Regions from separate parts of the Homo sapiens genome. Here region 1 is linked to region 2. The links are contacts of gene promoters, found by promoter capture Hi-C in human tissues and cell types (Jung and others, 2019). All regions are on one chromosome and are shown on one strand. Each heading gives the region's core, a stretch centred on a gene start or on the middle of the fragment in contact. The rest is flanking DNA. Distances are from core to core; before and after follow the strand shown. Region 1 has its middle 40 kb from the start of SELENOK. Region 2 holds the start of CACNA2D3 (calcium voltage-gated channel auxiliary subunit alpha2delta 3).

Evidence for each region. The method cuts DNA at HindIII sites, captures the fragments that hold promoters and counts their contacts. A contact is called where the count stands out against the background at its distance.
Region 1: a contact is called between a fragment that was not itself captured here and the fragment with the promoter of CACNA2D3 in region 2, in 1 of the 25 tissues and cell types used here (dorsolateral prefrontal cortex).

Annotation. Positions count from the first base shown.
Region 1 is chr3:53,930,404-53,933,226 of GRCh38, reverse strand. No RefSeq gene overlaps it. Among named protein-coding and RNA genes, the nearest start is that of SELENOK, 40 kb to the right of the region's middle. The HindIII fragment of the contact is 6,438 bases long and covers 1-2,823 here.
Region 2 is chr3:54,120,974-54,123,933 of GRCh38, reverse strand. CACNA2D3 (calcium voltage-gated channel auxiliary subunit alpha2delta 3) reads right to left here and starts at 1,382. Exons shown (of 38, transcript NM_018398.3): 1 at 1,099-1,382; 2 at 340-421. The coding sequence starts at 1,220. It overlaps LOC124909381 (a long non-coding RNA gene), which reads left to right and starts at 492. Exons shown (of 2, transcript XR_007095914.1): 1 at 492-877. RefSeq lists a silencer at 2,576-2,625. The HindIII fragment of the contact is 8,759 bases long and covers 1-2,960 here.

The DNA.
Region 1 (2,823 bases), core at 178-2,677, 190 kb after region 2:
TTCATCTCAAAAACAAAACAAAACAAAACAAAAATCAAGAATTTAACAACTCAATCTTAGCAATTTATAGAGTAACGGGACAAAAAAAAATCAGTAAAGGCATAGAAGATTTCACCAACATTCTCTTCTGTTGATATTTAAAAGACACTAAACCCAACAACTACAGAGTACATATTCTTTATAAATGCACCTGATACCTTCATCAAGATAGAACATATATAGGGCCATAAAGAAGTCTCAACACATTTAAAATTATTTAAATCGTACAGAATTTTTTTTTTTTTTAGACAGAGTCTCACTCTGTCACCCAGGCTGGAGTGCAATGGCATGGTCTCAGCTCACTACAACCTCTGCCTCCCGGGTTCAAGCGGTTCTCCCACCTCAGCCTCCTGAGTAGCTGGGACTACAGACGCGCATCACCACACCCAGCTAATTTTTGTATTTTTAGTAGAGATGGGGTTTCACTGTGTTGGCCAGGCTGGTCTCAAACTCCTGACCTTGCGATCTGCCTGCCTCGGCCTCCCAAAGTGCTGGGATTACAGGCGTAAGCCACCGTGCCCAGCCTCAGAATTTACTATTTAATTCCAATGGAATTAATTCAATGCTAGAGGGAAACATAGCTTTAAATGCTTATATTAGAGAGTAATAAAAATCTAAAACTCAAAGTTTCCAACTTAAGAAACTAGGAAAGAAGAGTAAATAGAAAATAACAGAGAGAAAGGCAAATATTGTTGAAACAGAAAACAGATAAACAGTGGAGAAAACTAACAAAGGAGGAATATGGTTCTTTGAGAAGATCAACAAAATGGATAAACCTATAGCCAGACTAATCAAAAGAAAATAAAAAATGCCAAGCACTAATATTAAGAAGACGTTAAAATATGATAAGAAAAAGTTATGAACAAATTTATGCTAATTTGACAACTTAGATGAAATAAAATTCCCTTAAAAATGCAACTTTTCAAAATGGTCAAAAAATATAACAGAAATTATTAAATAGCTTTATGTTTCCTAAAGAAGTTGAGTTTATTTCCAAAAACTTTCCCATAAAGAAAATTCAAGGCTCAGATGGTTTCGCTTGTGAGGTGTATGAAATGTTTAAGTAAGAAATAATATAAATGTTACACAACCTTTTAAAAAAACTAGACAGAGAGGAATAACTTTCCAACTTGTTTTCTGATAACTCCGATTTAATATATACATACTTGCCCCCTCTCATTACATCTTTTCACCAATGTACTGGAGGCCTTAGTCAGTGCAATGAGGCAAAGAAAAAGAAATAGAAAGGCAAAAGCTACAACTGTCTCTATTTAGAGATGACATGCTTGTTTACATAGGAAATCCTATGAAATCTACAGAATGACTGCTAGCACTAAGTGAATTTAGCAAAGTTATAGTATGCAAGGTTAGTATACAAAAATTAATTGTATATATAGAGAGATACATAAACAAACAGGGCAGGGCACGGTGGCTTGCACCTGTGATCCCAACATTTTGGGAGGCAAAGGTGGGAGGATTTCTTGAACCCAGGAGTTCAAGATCAGCCTGGGCAACAAAGTGAGACCCCATCTCTACAAACAATTTTTTTTTTTTAATTAGCCAGGTATGGTGGCATGTGCCTGTAATCCCAGCTAGTTGGGAGGCTGAGGCAGGAGGATTGTTTGAGCCCAGGAAGTTGAGGTTTCAGAGAGCCATGATCACACCACTGTACTTCAGCCAGCCTGGGCGACAGATTGAGACCTTGTCGCAACAAACAAACAAACAAAACAAACAAACAAACAAACAAAAAACACCTTCTTGCTGACAGGTCTGGAAAAAAATTTGAAAAAAAATTAAAAACAATTTCATTTGCAATACTTTTCTAAAAACCAAGATACTTAGGGGTAAAATTAACAAAAAACATGTAAGATCTCTATGCTGAAAACTATAAAACATTCTGAGAGAATTTAAAGACAATCTTAACAAACAAAGATGCATTCATCCAGTAATACTGGATGTCTCTATCTTACTAGCATGTTAATTCTCCCCAAATCGATCTACAGATTTAAAGCCATTTCAATAGAAATTTCAGCAAGCTTTTTGGGTAGAAACTAACAAGCTGATTCTAAAATTTATTTAGAAATGGAAAGGACCTAGATTATCCATAGAAATCTTGAAAAAGAATAAAGTTGGAAAGTTAAAATGAATTTTAAAAATTAAATATTGATGGATGAGTGTAGAGATGTATTGATGGAGATATAAATCAAGTATAATAAAATGTTAACAGTAGAAACTAGAGGGTAGATAAATGGGACTGGCTATAAAATCATTTCAATGTCTCTTATGCTTGAAAAATTACATAATAAAGTGTTGAGGAAAACATATGAATCTTTATTGAAGGTCTTTTGAAAAGGATAGGTTAGATCACAAAACACAAACCAAAACCTCCTGAAAATTCTCTACTCGTCTATGTCCTCAAAGTCCCATATCTAGCTTATCAGTAAGAATATCCATTGTTCTTCTGTTCTAGAACGAAAGGAAATGTACGTAACTGATTGATTGATTGATTGATTATTTTGAGACAGAGTCTCGCTCTGTCGCCCAGGCTGGAGTGCAGTGGTGCGGTCTCCACCCACTGCAGCCTCCACTTCCTGGATTCAAGTGATTCTCCTGCCTCAACCTGCTGAGTAGCTGGGACCACAGGTGCATGCTACCACACCTGGCTAATTTTTTGTATTTTTAGTTGAGATGGGGTTTCACCGTGTTAGCCAGGATAGTCTTAACCTCCTGATCTCGTGATCTGCCCACCTTGGCCTCCCAAAGTGCTGGGATTACAGGTGTGAG
Region 2 (2,960 bases), core at 133-2,632:
AGTTAGCATTTTTTGGCCCGAGGAGCATCTGCTCTGGCACTGAAACAGCAATACCGACACGGAGACGAGAGCCATGCAAAAACACTCAGTTTCCGAGCCCCAGCCAGGACAGTGCGAGTGAGTATCCTGCTTTTCTTTGTGGTTAGAATCAAGTGTCATCTAAAAATAACCGGTTGGTAGGAAGAAGTCACTGCATAGTACAATGCCAAGAAACCCGGGGATCAGAGAGTCCTCCGATAACTGATGCTGCTCGGGGCTCACGTTTGTTTGGAAAACTAAATCTGCCTCCATTTTCTGTGCCGGAAAAATCATCGCTTCCTGCCACCACAGAAACCTTACCTTTTGCAGAAGCTGGGAACCGGAGTACTTAGCAGCAATGGATTTTATCTCCCCACCAAAAGCCGAGGCCCAGAGCTTCACCCTACAGGGAGAAGGGGCACAGGAAGATATGTAACACCCGTGTCACAGTCAACACGCACGCACACGCACACGCACACATGGGACTATGGCTGAAGGAGCAGTGCGATGTAACATGTTTTAAAAGAAGAAAAGATAGAAAAAGCGGCTTGGTAGAAACTGCCAGCACCAAAACTGCAAAGCGCAGCGCGGGAGGGGGCCCGAGGGGGGTCGCGGAGTTAAGAATGCGCAAAGTCTCCCAGGCTCTCTAAAAAGACCACTGAGTTTCATTCGAACCACTGCCCGAGGACTCGACCCCCCAAACTGGGCATCACCTGGCAAATAGCAGTCAGAAGAAATCCACCCATCCCCCCCCCAAAAAAAGAAGTGGGGCGGCAGTAGAGCAAAGAGGGGGGAAATTCAGCGGCCCATGGAAGTTGGATTCGGTAACCAGGCTCCAAAGTTGGTGCCGTCACTTGAGGTGAGCCTCTCCAGATCTCACTCGGCAACCTGCGGGCAGGGGCCAGAGCATCCCACCCCGGCCTCGCCGCCCGACGCGGGTCCCGAAAGGCAGGTGCGAGCGGCGAGGCCGACGCCCGCGGCGGGTCCTGCCCAGCCGCACCTGCAGGCGCCCAAACTTGGGCACAGTGGGTCGCAGGCGGCAAGGTCCCCTCCCCGGGCGGCGCAGGAGCCGGCACTTACACGGAGAGCGGTATCTGCTGCTCCGAGCGCACCACGTCCCCCAGCGCGGCGTAGAGAAGCGCGGCAGCGAGAAGCGCCGAGGCCCCCCGGGACGCGCGGCGCGGCGAGCCCGGCCCGGCCATGCTGGGCTCCCTCCGACGCGCCCGCTGCGGCGGCGACGAGAGCGGCCGCGGGGAGCTGCGCGGAGCGGGCGGTGGGCGAGCGCGCGGGGCTGCCTGCTCCGCTCCGCGCCGCCCCGCCTGCCTCTCGCGCGCCCGGCTCACTTGGGGAGCAGAAAAAGGAGCGGGTGGGGGGGGCGGGGAGGGCGGAGAGGAGAGGGAGGGAGGAGAGGTGGGGAGGGAGGGAGGAGAGGTGGGGAGGGAGGCGGGCGGGGGAGGAGGCAGCGAGACGCGCCTCTAGCAGCAGCAGCCGCCCGGCCCCGCCTCGGCGGCCCCGGGGAGTCCGGCGGGCCGCGGCGGGAGGGCGGCGGGGCAGGAGGCGCCGCGCGGGCGGGGACTCGGAAACTCCAGTGTCCTTGGCCGCGGCGGAGCGCGCCCTGCCCCACCCGGGCTACTGCGGCCGCTGAGTTCTTTACAACTCCGCAGTCCGCCACCGCGGGCGCGACTCTGGGGCTGGCCCCGGGCCGGGCGACCCTAGCCAGGGTGGGGGTTGGGGGCGCGGGAGGGAAGCCGAGGGCAGGGCGCGGCGCTCCGCACTTTGCGGGCGGCTGCTAGGAGAGGGCGTAGCATGCCCGCTCCGCCCCTGGGCCGGGCGGGGTCGGGGGCCGCGGAACCTAAAGGGGGCGCGCCCTCCGCCCCCGCCGCGCGATTCTCCTGCGGGGAGGGAGCTGGGGAAGAAGCAGAAATCTCAGAAAGGAGCACAGGCTCGCGGCGGCAGGCGGGATCGCACGCGGGGCGGATCGGGCTGGGGATGGGACTGGGTGGGAGCTCGGGGCTCTGGCTAGGGCAGCGCTGCGTGACCGCCCGCAGCTGCTCCTCCGGCCGCGGCGCCCGACAGGGGAAAGCACGGAGGGCGGTGCTGCCACCACGGCTTGGGCGCACCAGCGCGGGGCTCCCGGCATCCGGCCGCAGCGCAGCGGCCCCCTGCGCGCCCGACCCAGGCCCCGGGGCTCCCCAGCGGCCGCTGCCTTCGGAGTCCGCCCGGCTGCGGTGACTGGTGGGGACCGGGATGTCAGGGTTGAGCGAGGAAGCCAACGCGGCGCCGAGTCGATCCTGACCGGGGGACACCCTGGATTTCGGGATAAAAGATTTCTCCGAGCCTGGGGGATTGCCTGCTCCCCACTCCGGCGCCCACCGCACTGGGCAGGAGGCAGTGAGCGCCGGAGGAGGCGCCTTCTCGCCGCCCTCAGGGGCGAGGAGAAAGGAAGCCGGAGAAGCCCCTGCGCGTTCTGGGAACCAGGCTTCTCCCCGCCTCTCTCGCCGCTGCCCCCACCCCGGGACCCAGCTTGCAGAACCCCTCTCCCCCGTGCGAGGTATGGGGTGTGATTGGGAACTTTGTGGAGCCCTCGCGCAGGCTGGCGGTAAAGACCGACCGGAGTGAGGCTGAGTCATCCTTGCCCGGCCAAGCGCAACTCCGGTGACCCCAGCAAGGAGTGCGCTCCTAACGTCGCCGGGGCTCCCGGCGCACCAGACACCTGGGTTCATATTTGCATGCCTTTCTGCAACCAGGGCTTTGCTTTCTGCCCCGTCACCCGCCCTTGGCCTCAGCATCCTCAGGTTGCAGGGAAGTAAGGGCGGGCTCCAGCTTCCGCCAGGTGGTGTCCGGCTAGGAGCCAGGCCGGCTCTCCTTTCCAGTAGTCCCTGGAAAAAGTTACCCCTGCAGATGTTGGGCTTGATCTCAGAGTTGGCAGCGAGGGAGAAGGA